3 separate regions of the Homo sapiens genome follow, and regions 2 and 3 are each linked to region 1. The links are contacts of gene promoters, found by promoter capture Hi-C in blood cells and fetal thymus (Javierre and others, 2016). All regions are on one chromosome and are shown on one strand. Each heading gives the region's core, a stretch centred on a gene start or on the middle of the fragment in contact. The rest is flanking DNA. Distances are from core to core; before and after follow the strand shown.

Evidence for each region. The method cuts DNA at HindIII sites, captures the fragments that hold promoters and counts their contacts. A CHiCAGO score of 5 or more calls a contact.
Region 2: a fragment that was not itself captured here is called in contact with the fragment with the promoter of DNM3OS in region 1 in 11 of 17 cell types (naive B cells, total B cells, endothelial precursors and 8 more); the score reaches 16.2 in naive B cells.
Region 3: a contact is called between a fragment that was not itself captured here and the fragment with the promoter of DNM3OS in region 1, in 1 of 17 cell types (naive B cells). The highest score is 5.5, in naive B cells.

The regions. Positions count from the first base shown.
Region 1 is chr1:172,142,112-172,146,597 of GRCh38, reverse strand. It overlaps DNM3OS (DNM3 opposite strand/antisense RNA), which reads left to right and starts at 1,763. Exons shown (of 4, transcript NR_103486.1): 1 at 1,763-1,944; 2 at 2,161-2,233; 3 at 4,385-4,462. The region is part of intron 14 of DNM3 (dynamin 3); the gene reads right to left. MIR199A2 (microRNA 199a-2) reads left to right here and starts at 1,954; the gene lies at 1,954-2,063. The HindIII fragment of the contact is 1,597 bases long and covers 365-1,961 here.
Region 2 is chr1:172,372,365-172,376,850 of GRCh38, reverse strand. All of the region lies in intron 17 of DNM3 (dynamin 3), which reads right to left. Among named protein-coding and RNA genes, the nearest start is that of C1orf105, 46 kb to the left of the region's middle. The HindIII fragment of the contact is 1,328 bases long and covers 1,114-2,441 here.
Region 3 is chr1:172,293,510-172,297,995 of GRCh38, reverse strand. All of the region lies in intron 15 of DNM3 (dynamin 3), which reads right to left. Among named protein-coding and RNA genes, the nearest start is that of C1orf105, 120 kb to the left of the region's middle. The HindIII fragment of the contact is 951 bases long and covers 1,563-2,513 here.

The DNA of each region.
Region 1 (4,486 bases), core at 514-3,013:
TAGATCATTTCCAGTAATATGCAAGCAGTGACAGGGAAAAAAGGGAGGTGAGTCTTATGGGCTTGTGCAAGCACTATTGAATAGGTCCTAAAGACACAAATATGGAAGCAAAAGTACAGAGATATAAAGTCATTCCTCTGACTCCTATTGATGATATAAATATTTCTATGAATGGTGTACCCAGTGCTAACCTCTGTTCCATCCTAAGATGCCAGATAATTCATGTTTATCTTATTTAATCTTCCTCACAAGATAACAAGGGCTTGTCATAACTTTTGAACTCTTCAGTAGTGTGCTATTTAATGATTCAAAAGAGGCCATTTTATGAAAAGCAAATGCTTTAGGACAGTACTCACTTGAAGCTTTTTGAAATATACAATGCAGCGTATAAAAAAGAGATATATTTTTCTACTTCTAAAAAGTATTTCAGAAGGCCAGTGGAAATGAATTGCTTTGGCTGTACTTTCTTTAAAGAAGGCTAAGTTTCTTAGTCTGGTTGGTCAAATTAAATTTGGAAGCTACCTAGAAATTTTCTCACATTTTGATCTTCAGAAGGGCAATTAATCAAGCTCTTGTTTGAGGCGACTCTAGCTTTGATCAGAATCCTATGGAGGGAAAGTGAGAGAACTACATATTCAGAATATTCAAGAGTATATATAATTGAAAACAGCCACAACAGGGAAAGAAAAGTAGATGCCAGTGGGCTGATATCTTATAACCTTTGGTCAAGCGGTACTTGGCAAATTTCAACAGATTTAGTTAACCAGAGATAAAACTAAGCCACAGAATACCATGAAAACAAAACAAAAGTATCAAAACAGAATCAGGAATTACAAGTGAAAAACAATGCTATACCTAACAGCATGGATCTACCAGAGGCGATTTGTTAGAAGACCTGAGTCGTTGTTTCGTAGTGGATGCTTCAAACAAAAACTGTAACGTTTCTTTAGGTCAAACTATAGCACAGCATTCAGAGACCCAGCCAAAATAGCTGAGGGAAACTAGGAAGGCCACATGTGGAACTAATTACTCATGTAGAGGCCATGACAAAGAACATTTCTCCAGACTTTTCATGGGGGCTTCACTTTCAGGAAGTTGCTATAATTACTGTTCAAGTCTAGAGCAGCCTGCAAGCTGCTGACAGATTCAACAGACAGGAGAAGGAGGGAGAGAGAGAAGGAGAGAAAGAGAGAGAGAGCGGGAGGGAAGGAGGGAGGGAGGGAGAGAGAGGGAGGGAGAGGGGAAGAGGGGGAGAGAGAGAGAGAGAGAGAGACAGACAGACAGACAGACAGACAGAAACTTATCTGCCCTTTTTGACGAGTGAAATACCAGAAAATAAAGTGCCACAGGAAAGCTCAAAAAGGTTTCCAAATGAGCTCTGCCTTCCAGTGTTCAACTTTCTGTTTACTATTTCATCTACCCTCTATCTTCAAATTACTTCTCTAGCCTGGGTCAGACAGTAAATTTGTACTTCTACACTAACTCACTTTCAGTTGGCCACAGCCGAACTGTACATCTTGACTCTTTTTTTTTTACAGCTTTTCCATACTGGGGCCCACTTCCTGCCCAGTTGAGGAAAAAAATCTGGCCTGAAGATGAAATGACTGCTTAACGTTACACTAAAACATCTGGTACCATTTTATGCACAGACCCATGTCTGAGAGCAGGCGATTCTAGCGGTCTCTCCAGCGGCACAGCGCATACCCAAACCTCCCCAGGGTGACATCATCCCATATATGGACTCTCCAGCCCAGCCCTCCCCCTTTTCCTGGTCCTAAATTCATTGCCAGTTCCCCAGTCTGCAGCAAATGTGCCACGTCAAGACTGGAAATCACAGCCCTTGAGTGTGTCTCAGTCAGCGCAGCAGAATTCAGGGGGGAAAGCTGAATGCAACCCCTGGTGCAGGAAGGGAGGCTTTTCCTGAGGACCGGGAGAGGATTTTAAGTACATAGAAGGAAGCTTCTGGAGATCCTGCTCCGTCGCCCCAGTGTTCAGACTACCTGTTCAGGACAATGCCGTTGTACAGTAGTCTGCACATTGGTTAGACTGGGCAAGGGAGAGCAACGCCATGGACCGCTGGGGACAAAATGGGCTGTTTCCAAGGAGAAGACATTTGTTTGCTCCTTTTTTGAATCTCATATCCAGTGTTTTTCTTCACAGGTTTTGCACACTAGGGACCAAGAAGCCCTCGGGGACACTGCTGAGAAAAGACTGCCGAAGGGAAGACCAGCGGGTAAGGCCTTCTTGACTGCTCACCTGGTCTGTGACCAAGGGAACCTAGGTGGGGAGCCCATGATTTGTGTTAACATGCAAGGGAAACAGAGGTACATGTGTGATGGGTAGAGATGTATTTAATTTTAAAAGAGCAAAAGTGTGTGGTATATAGCGATTTACTGTTTTTTTTTTTTTTATTTCTGAAGATTGATAATTCAAGTGTTTTCTTAAAGGTTTTCCCACTTCAAAATGAAATATGAAAAAACTCATTCCAGACACTTAAGAATAGTTTAATGAGGCTACTTTTGAATTGTTTAATAATAATTCAAAGATTTAAAAACTTATATGGATGAAGGCTGTATGTATAACTTTTAACATCCCAGGACTGAAGTCATTTTTCCCCAAAGTAAAGAATACTTGCTGGTTTTTAAATGCTATATGGATAGTGCTTTTCTGAAGATTTCCTTCTGTAATATAAACAACAGGAATAATAGTACCTAACAATAAAAGAAGAACCTGCCAAGTCTTGCCTACCAGACAATGCAGATGGGATTTGCCCAGAGAAGAGCACCGACCCACAACTTATTGAGTCAGCAACTGAGTAAATCAGGGAATAAAAACCTCTATCTTTAGATACCCCTGTAAATATCTGTTTTACATTTTTTTTAAATCAAAGAGTGGTTAATAATTGCTGCTCAGCTGAGCCCTCTTGCCTATAGCTTACAATGCTTCCACTTCTCTGAGCATTTAAAATAAGGCACTTTGTCTAGAAACCCACTGATAAAAAAGGAATTTGTAAACGAAGGCAGAAGTTTTCTTTGGTCAGTTTCCAGCTGTCCTGGAGGTGAAAGAGGGTGGGAGAGGGGGAGGAAGGTGGGAGGGAAGAAAACCCTCAAGCTGAATGAAATCCTAATAGAGAAAATAATAGAGCAAGTCTGGATTGCAATGTGATCTGTGCTGAACTTTAGAGGTCGGCCCCTTAAAGAAAGTTCTGGAAAAATGTTATTGCCTCATCCCTAATTTTCTTAACCCCCATTAATTTCTATTCCGAAACAATTCTATATAATGAAAACATCTCTTCTACAGGGTTTGTGAAAAATAAACATAATCTCTTTTGTCCTCCTTTAAAGTTACAGTGGTTCCTGAACAAATTCTTTTCTAAGTTATACATTTTGCAACAATTCAAAAATTGACTCAAGTTCTCTTTAGCAAAATATTTTATTATAAAAGATTCCCTAAGTTTTCTTTTGTCAAAACAACTTACTTTAAAAATTACCCTTCTGATCACCCCAAAATGTGTATAAAGAAAACATTAAGTATTCTCATATATTCATGATTATTAGTTAAAATATAAACAGCAAGGAGAAATTTAGCTACTTTCACTTAGATGATATAGTAAAGTTATCCTTTCATTTTCTATTGTGACTTGGAGAGTTCCATATTAATTATTTTTAGTAGAACAAATGAGATGTTAAAAATCTATATAGTTTCTTTTACATAAGAAAACTAAAAAAAGTAACTTAGAGGAGCTCATTTTTTCAAGAAATATATTTTTTCTAATTGATACAATTACTGAAGAGGAAAAATAGCTAACAAGGTACTTTGGTAATGTTTTTCTCAAATTTTCTGGGTTTTTTTTTTTTTTTTACTCTAGAAATGATTACATTTCAAAATTTGCTTTCATTTAATGTATATTTAATTTCAATTTCTTTCTTCATGTTAAACGGTCTTTTTGTTTCAAAGAAATGAATCCCTATGGGTCCCTCACCTATTTTCTCCCTCAGGATGACTTTTAGTCTGGAGATAGAAGGGACATAAGGGTGCCTCTGGCATAAGTACAGGAGTAGAAATATAAGAATTACTTTGTAAAAGGATAACCAAGGAGTTCCTGCACATGCTTGATGTGGCTCTAGCGACTTATTTTCGAGGCAAAGTTTTAACAAATGAAAACGAATAGTACTTATTTTTCAATTATATGGGCTAAATTAAAGATCAAAGGTAAAAGCTCATTTTATAAAGCTCTGCTGAATGAAGGCAGGATTGTAGTTTATGCGCTGGTACACACGCCCACATTTATATACATTATAGCCATATCTATATCCAGGTAAATTAGAAAAATGTTTAATTTTATTTTCATATTACTTTATAAGGAGATATACAAATATTTTAGGGATCATGGAATCTATTCCAGAGGAAACTAACCAACAGTGAGCATCTTCAACTAAAACTACCCCTGGATGTAATAAGTGTAAGTATTAAAATTAAACATTAT
Region 2 (4,486 bases), core at 528-3,027, 230 kb before region 1:
AGTGAATAGAGAACTCTGGTTTAATTCTTAGCATTAAAAAAAATTGAGAGGCTTTAGTAAATAATCAGTAAAACAATTTGAAATTCTTCTTAGCTTTTGGAAATACTTGCAGACATGTAGTGACATGCAAATCTTAACTATTCTGATAATACAGTGGACATGATGGGGAGTCACAGAGTTCAGTATGCAAATTTGATTTATTTCCTCATTTTAGAAAAAAAGAAGCAGTAAACTGCCCCTTCTACCAATGTCTAAGATGAACGGGAAAAATGCATATAAATGGAATTTTTCTTTTACGTGAGTAATTGCAGAGAGCAACACTTCCTTTTCTCTAACCCCAGTTCTAACCAAATTCTCCATTGTGCTCTTTTCTGTATGTATATTGTGTATGACTATATTTTTTCTTTGTTTAAATTATAGGATTGCAATAAGGTTCTTTGCAGTTGAAGCACTGAAATGACAGCTGTTTATCATTATCCTCATCAAGGAAATGTAAAATAAAAATAGTAATTTGTCTCTGATCTTTGAGGCAAAAAAGAATGGTCTGCAAACATTTAACCTTTTATGTGCAGGTTCAATGATGCTGTTTAAAAAACGTGAATAATATTGTAGAAACCAGCTTGTTTCTAAAAAATACAATAGACAGTCCTTCCTATTGCAGTTTTTAAAAATAGCTATTGAGAAATCTAATTTAACCAATAAAAACACCAGCATTGTAAATGTGAAGTCATTTATAAAAATTACCATAACTTACTTTCTCCGAAATTATTTGCATGGTATTTAAGAAACAGGCTGTTATATAAAGTTTTAAGTTATTTAAAACATATTTTTATAACTACTATTATTATTTTTGTTTTTAGAGACAGAGTCTTGCCCTGTCATCCAGGCTGAAGTGCAGTGGCGTGATCATAGCTCACTGCAGTCTCGAACCCCTGAACTCAAGGGATCCTCCCATATAGCTGTAACTACATGCCACGCCCAGCTAATTTTGCCTTTTTTTTTTTTTTAGAGATGGGGTTTTGTTATGTTTCCCAGGCTTATCTCAAATTCCTGGCTTTAAGCGATGGTCCCGCCTCAGCCTCCCAAGTAGCTGAAAATTTTAATTTAAAAGCTTTCTTTTAAAGGTTTACTACTTTAACAGGTGAGGGAATGAAAGTGTTGAATCAGAAATAATTCTCACCATACCTTGGGGCGTCTATTATAGAAGCACTGGGCTTGACTGGAATGTCTTTCAGGTGTTTTGTTTTTGTCTTTTCCCTTTCCTTAAATCTCTTATTTAATCATGTCATAGACTTATTTGAAGACTTTTTCTTAGTAAATCAGGTCATCACGATGAAAACACTGTTACCATGGTAACGTACCTGTGAATTTTTCCAGCCCTACATTATCAAGAATGGTTTCACTGAAAACCTCTCTCCACTGCCAATCATTCACTTCTAATTTGATGAGGCTGGAAGGGTATGGGTTAAGATAGTGTTGATGATGCTCACCCCACCACCAACAGTGGTCTACAAATACTGTGAGACAAAACATGTGTTTCCAAAAGCTACCAGGATGACCAAATATAGTCCTATGAGAAATGCCTTACAGACATAAAACAATTGTGCTATTGATCATGATGAAGGCTGTTTTTGACTCAGAGCGATTCCTCTGCTACTGTTAATTCTGTAACACCATCATCATCATGTTTACATACTCAAATAATGAAATACTATAATCACAAGAAAAACCCCCGTGGTTTCATTTATAAGAAGATAACACTTAAAGATTAGGGGGAAAATGACACAAGAGTAATCTATATTTTAGGAATTCTACTTCCATCACCTAAAAACTTGTAACTGTAAAGAAATTTTAAATTATTGTATCCTTTATACTATTTGTTTAACAGGCACTTTTAAAGCTCATTCAGTTTAGAATCAGGGTATTAAGGGATTATAAGGTCTACGCAATAAAGAACTAGGTCTGTTTACAAAGATTGAAAGATGGACAAAGGTATGAAACAAAAATCACAGATATTGTAAAGCAAAATCTGTCAATTGTTTTGTTCTTCAAAATCATTTACATGGATGAGTATAGATGCACTATATCAAAGTTAATAAAGTCCTAGAGAAAGCAGGGGCAATAAAATTCAAATAATATGAAAGCAGCATGGGCCGTCATAATAAACTACATAGCAAAATAATAGCATAGGTATGCAGTTGATCTTATTTACCTTTTCTTTACATTATGAGGAAGAAAATCTTTCAAAGTTCAATGTAAATACAATTACACTTGCTTTACATGTAAAAACTTCTTAGTAAAAACAAAATAATACAAAGCATTAAAGCAACCAAAAAAACCACACACAACTGTAAAATTCTGTGAGTAGAATCATTTCTTTCTGGAGTACAGAAGAAAAACGAAGCCGTTAAAAAAGCAGCTATAATCAGGGGTTTTAAGCTTCCCTGATGTTCACTGAATACTGTAGTTGATAAAGCTGTCACCTACATCCAACTACAGAACTCCCGAAAGGCCTGAAGATAACTTTTTCAACTATTCCTACACATGAATTACTGAGTGCACCTTCTCAGACATTCCCAGGGCCCAAGAGCCTTAGTAGATGATCAAGATTAAAAAAAGACCTGAAGGCTGTTTTAGGAAATTTAAGTTAATTTTTGTTGAAAGGAAAGATGAAAACAAAATCAGAAGAAATTTGCTAGGTTGAGCTGTTGCAAATTTCTTGTTTCCAATATTCAAAGATAGAACATTATGTGATAATAGCACCAGACCACAGCTGAGTCATCATACAGACAACACGTACATGTCCCAAAGTTGGGGAGCTACTTCCAAAGTTGCCAAAACCAGAACTTCTTCTGTCACTGTAAATGCTCATACCCAACTAAAAAATAAATTAAAATTTAAAGGAGCTTATCTCAATTTAGGCAAACCTTTAGTTTACAGAAAAATAACTTTGTGAAGATGATAAAAATATACTGAGAGTTCTATAACTACTAATATTCTGAAGAAGATTGCTTAGACAAAGATCTATATTCTTGGAGTAATAATCATTGGGTCTGGAGTTTTTTTTCTTTTGTTACTTCTCTCTCTCATTCTTCTGAAATTGAATGTGTGTATGTTGCCTGTTTGACAATCTGGAGGATGTAAAGTACAAAAAAACAAAACTATCTTTGCTTTACCCTAATTCTGGTATTTACCTTGGCTATCAGATTTGTCTACATTTTATAAAGTGGCAAAAACAAAGAGAGTCAAGATTGCTTAAAGATCAACAACTATGGCTGCATTTATAATAAAAATTAAAACTATTCTAAGGCAAATTTTATAGAAGGATGCAATTATTATTTGAAACAATTCTGTATTATTTTAAATTTTGTAGTGTATCAGATTGTCCTGAGTGCTTTATTAATAAGATTTGTAAGTATTACGTGAGGTGTAAGAGATAAAGCTGATGTTGGTTTTTAAAAGCTTTTTTCCTTAGACTATTTTTAAAGTAGTTTAGGAGAAGAAATCAGATTGCAACTGCTAGTAAACATTAATGAGTTTATAAGTCTAAATGACTTTTATGACTGGGATCAAGATGTTTCTTTACAAAGCAATAAGGTGACAGGAGACTAAAGATGCGAATTTTGCTAAGAAAGCATTATTACTGCATGTATTTACATTGTCCCTCAAATTTCTCTTTTTTTAACCATGGCTTCAAAATTTCTACAAATACTATTGTTAGTGAGTACTATGTTTTTTCCTCTGCCAATTGTTTATGTCTATTTAATCCATATAAACACTTTTAGAATAGACATAATGCTTTCTGAATTAAAGGTGTTTTAGTTAAATGAAATATTTGATAAAATGGCTTTTCTTAAAAATTCTCATCACAGGCCATGGTGGCTTGTGCCTGTAATCCTAACACTTTGGGAAGCCAAGGTGGGTAGATCACTTGAGCTCATGAATTTGAGACCAGCCTGGGCAACATGATGAAACCTGGTCTCTACAAAAAATTTAAAAATTAGCCAGGCATACTGGTGCATGCCCGTAGTTCCAGATACTCAGGAGGCAGAGGTAGGAGGATCACTTGAGCCTGGGAGGCAGAAGTGGGAGTGAGCCGAGATCACACCACTGCACTTCAGCCTGGGTGACAAAGCAAGACTCTCTTTCCAAAAAAAAAAAAAAAAAAAAAAAAAATTAATTACAAGATTTCATACTACATTGGGGGCCAAATGAATCAAAAGTGATATGGTAACATTATCTATCTAATTAAATATAATTTCTAGCAATATTCTTTAATCACTTATAAACTACCTGGCAATAAACATAAAATAGAAAGGGCATGACACATAGTTTTAGAGGGTTCATAAATGAATGCATATGGCTTAAGGTAGCATATAAGATAGCTTCACATAACATCAAGGTGGTATGTTTAAGATAAAAGATGAATTAAAAATAAATGAAATAATTCTGGATGGTAAATCTTGCTGTTTTAATAGAATTCTTG
Region 3 (4,486 bases), core at 789-3,288, 150 kb before region 1:
CAGAAATGATGAGGGTGTGGAGGAAAGACCCAGAATGTCTAACTTGTGAACAAGAGGAGTTCCAGAAAAAAAGAAAAGGAAGATAGAAGGAGAAAAACAATTATAAAAGACATATTTTTTTAAAAAGAAGCTTTCCCTGAGATTTAGAAAGACACAAATATGTACATCAAAAGTACAATCAGGTGGAATTAATGAGAAAAGATACAACTGAGGCATATGAAGTTCTAATAAAAAAGTATAAAAGAAAAATGTGAGAAACATACTCCCAGATAAACCTTGTATGACAGAAGAAACCAAAAGTAAAAATTATTTAGAAAGCAATAAAGATATAAACGCTTCATATCCAAAGGAGCAAAGGCTGTAGGAAAATGTATAACCTTAAATATGCTCATCATTTAGAAAAGAAGGTTGGTATTCATCTAGATAAATTATAAAATGATTTTTAAAAAATAAAATAAACCAACAAAGAGAATTAACACAGATTAAGGCCAAAATTAAGGAAATAGGAAATATAAAAATAACAGAGGTTAAGGACATCCACAAGTATTTTCCCTTTACCAGTAGATAATACACTTACAATCCTAATTAAGGGGGGAAATGGGAGAAAACAAAAGTATACAAGATTGCAAATGAGAAACAATAGGATAATGACCACAAATATAGAAGAGGTTGAAAAAATTAAAATATTATATGCAACCCTATGGCAAAAAATTAAGAATCTAGAATAAATTAACAATACCTTTAAAAATACAAATTACCAAAATTAACTCAAGAAGAATTGAAAAATCCAAGTGTTAGTATTTAACAAAACACTACCAAAATTAATAAGATGCTATTTTTTTTTTTTTTTTTTGAGATGGAGTTTTGCTCTGTTGCCCCGGCTGGAGTGCAGTGGCATGATCTTGGCTCACTGGAGCCTCCGCCTCCCAGGTTCAAGCGATTCTCCTGCCTCAGCCTCCCAAGTAGCTGTGATTACAGGAACATGCCACAAGGCCCAGCTGAGTTTTGCATCTTTAGTCTAGATGGGATTTCACATTGTTGGCCAGGCTAGTCTCGAACTCCTGACCTCAGGTGATCAGTCCGCCTTGGCCTCCCAAAGTGCTAGGATTACAGGCGTGAGCCACTGTGCCCGGCCAAGATGCTATGTTTAAAAGGCTAACATTAACTGCAAGATGAAAATATACAAATCAATTGCTTTTCTCAGTACTACAAATAACTTAGGAAATGGGAAAAGACTCCATTCACATTAGGAGCAGAGCCTTTAAAATACATAGAAATGAATTTTTTTAAATTAAGGAAATGATAATATCTTATTGAATAGCACGAAACAAACCCTTATAATTGGAAAGGGAGGTGTGACATCACCAGGATGGTGGAAAAGAAGGTCACCTGCTAATATTCCCCTACAGCAACAAGAATTCCACATCCCTGTATAGTCAGAAGTCTCTTTCTGGGAGCCTCAGGATTCAGGTAGGAGTTTGTGAAACACTGATGAAGCCCTAGACATAGGAGGGTTGTTTTGAGAGTATCGAATGACACTGAGGTGGCTGATCCACCAAGCTTGCTCCCAGGTTCAAACCTGGAAATGACCCAGTCCCCCAAGGGCCTTGGCTACAGACCATTTGGCCTTTGAGCCTGCAATCAAAATCATCTGCCAAGGGGTCCAGAAGGAATCACACAACTAGTGCTTTGGTGGAGAGACTTGTCTGAATGCTGGCATCATCTTGGCAGTGAACTGAATGTTGCCCTGTGGCTCTGCTCCAACCCCTCTAATAAATTAAAAGGGATATTTGGATGACTTGATTTGATTACACTGTACCCCAAGGTCTCACAAAGTGACCAGCACTAGTAGGTATTCCATAGATATTTATTGAGTAATGAATCTCATACGCATAAATATTGACTGTCATCTTTAAAGTATGTTTGCTAATTTTATAACTTAAAAGTGATTCTCCATCAATGGTTGCTTGCTAAGGACTTTGAGTATTTTAGTATGTTTATAGAAATGAAGTTCTTTGTTCTGATTTCATTACAAAAATATAATACAATATTTTTGTATAGTATTTCAAAGTCTTTTCACTTATTCTTTGCATTTGCCTGACCTATCTTTGTTTCTTCTTTTATTTTTACATTTTTTTCCATTTGTTTTACTTTTTAAAAGTCCTATTATAAATGTCAACAGTATAATTGGGTTTTGGTTTTAATCTCAATCAGAAAATCATCATTTTTGATTAGGAAAGTTTCAATCATGTTTATATCTTGCCATGACTGTGTGCTTAGCCTTAGTTTTATCATTTTGAGATACAATTTGCTGTTTTTAAATGCTGACTGTTTCTTTTGTTTTGTTAACAAATAAGCTGGCTTTTTGGCTTCTATATTTTTCAGCAGTTATCTTTCAGTTTTTAAAATCATTCTTGAATTCACTTTTGTATATATATACGTATATTTTATATATACACATACAATTCAGGAATACAAAAATAATCTCTGACTTCTTGAAGAATTTAGAAGCTTTTACTTTCTGCTGCTTTCTTCATGACATTTGCTAATCTATCTAGAAATACTGACATATTATTTCTGAATTTTTTCACATCTTTTCCTTCTTTTAATTGTATTCAGTTTTGTTATATTTAAGCATTTATTAGATGGAACTCTACATGTTTATCTTGAATAAATATTTACCATCAGGCATCTTCTACCTGGACTTCCCCGTTGTAAATTCTTACTTGGATTCGTTTTTTGAGTTGGCCTTATAGTTCAAAGTTGCCTCTCTGGATTTCTGGTTGTCACAGTGCCCACGTTTCTCAAGTTGATGTAGTGAAGAAACATAGAGGCTTCTTTGGGTTGTCTTCTTGTTTGGCCTCATTTTTCTTAATCAGGGCAAAGCATTCACTGGTCACTGATAGATTTTCAATCCAGTTCAATCTATGAGTCTTGCAAACGTTGACTGACATCTCTACTTTTCTGTGTCTTTGAGGATTTCCATCTTTGTTGTGTATGACTTTTGGGGTATAGTAATAAATAATAAATAGAGAAGGGGGAAAGTGAAACTTATAACTTTTTACTTTTTTTTTTTTTTTTTTTGAGACAAAGTCTGGCTCTGTTGCCCAGGCTGTAGTGCAGTGGCGCGATCTTGGCTCACTGCCACCTCCACCTTTCAGGCTCAAACCATCCTTCCACCTCAGCTTCCCAAGTAGCCGGGACTACAGCCTTGCAGTCCCAGCCTGGCTAATTTTGGTATTTTTTGTAGAAATGGGGTTTCGCCAGATTGTCTAGGCTGGTCTCGAACTTGTGAGCTCAAACGATCCTCCTGTGTTGGCCTTCCAAAGTGCTGGGATTACAGGTTTGAGCCACTGCACCTGGCCTAACTTTTTACCATTTTAAAAGATAAATAATCTCATTTACTCTTTATAGCAATCCTGTAAAGTTGGTAGTAAAGCTGTTTCACAGATGAGGAAACTGAAATTCAGAGATATTAAAGGGTGTTCCCAAGATCACATAACTAATAAGTGGCATAATCTGGGTCTACCCCAATCCTTGGTTTATAGCCTCCATAAAACAAACACTTGTTGAATGAATAAGAAAATGGACAAATAAATGAATGAAAACACAATGGAATAAACTTGGACAGTGCTTATTTTTTAAACCACCTTTTTCATTTTTGACCAGATGCTAAACTTTTTATAGAAAACCTAAGATATTCAAGTTTAAAAGGATAAACCAAAACAAGCAGAATGAGTCATTTCAATTAAAAGAGGGACACATTTAAAAGAAATATATTCTCCAAGCATGAAAGTTTATTGTTGGAAATTTTCAAAAGTTGTATCTTTGCTTTAGAGCAGAAAGAGTGATGGATTATCTTGACAGAATCAAAATTCATCAGTTTTTGATTATCTAATTACCTTTCTACCATAGCTTTTAGCTATCAATTAGGTTTCCATTTGGAGGTCTTCCCACTGCACAGTATGAATTCCTTTACTATGTAAAGGTATGGGGAAGGTAGAACTGGACAAATGTCATGGGAGCGCGTGGCCAGCTGGAAGGCACAGAAAGCAGAGGGCACAGACTTTCCACATTCTCTGAATAGATCTGAAGAATTCAGCTTTGGCCCATTCTCACTGACCTTTCTCCAGAGTATTTTCTTTCAGGGGCTCTTCACTGGAAAATCTTAATTTTTTTTTCCTCTTAAAGGATAGCCAAATTCTTGAGAGGGAAAATAATTATCTGGTTGAAACATTAGAAGAGGGTCAAAGGCTTCTGGTGGCTTTGGCTGCTTCATTTTTACCCATTTTCGAAGCCTCATCTTAGGCTGTGTCTAGACATCCAAGGAGAGTTGGATACAGGTCTAAAACACTGAACTGAGCTGATTTACTGGAAGTCTCATAAATTCTGTCGATGAAGCTTCCAGGTTCTCACCACATGCTGTAGCTGTATAGATAACCCACAGCAATTTGTACTGACTGCATTTTTTTGTTTAGTCTATTTC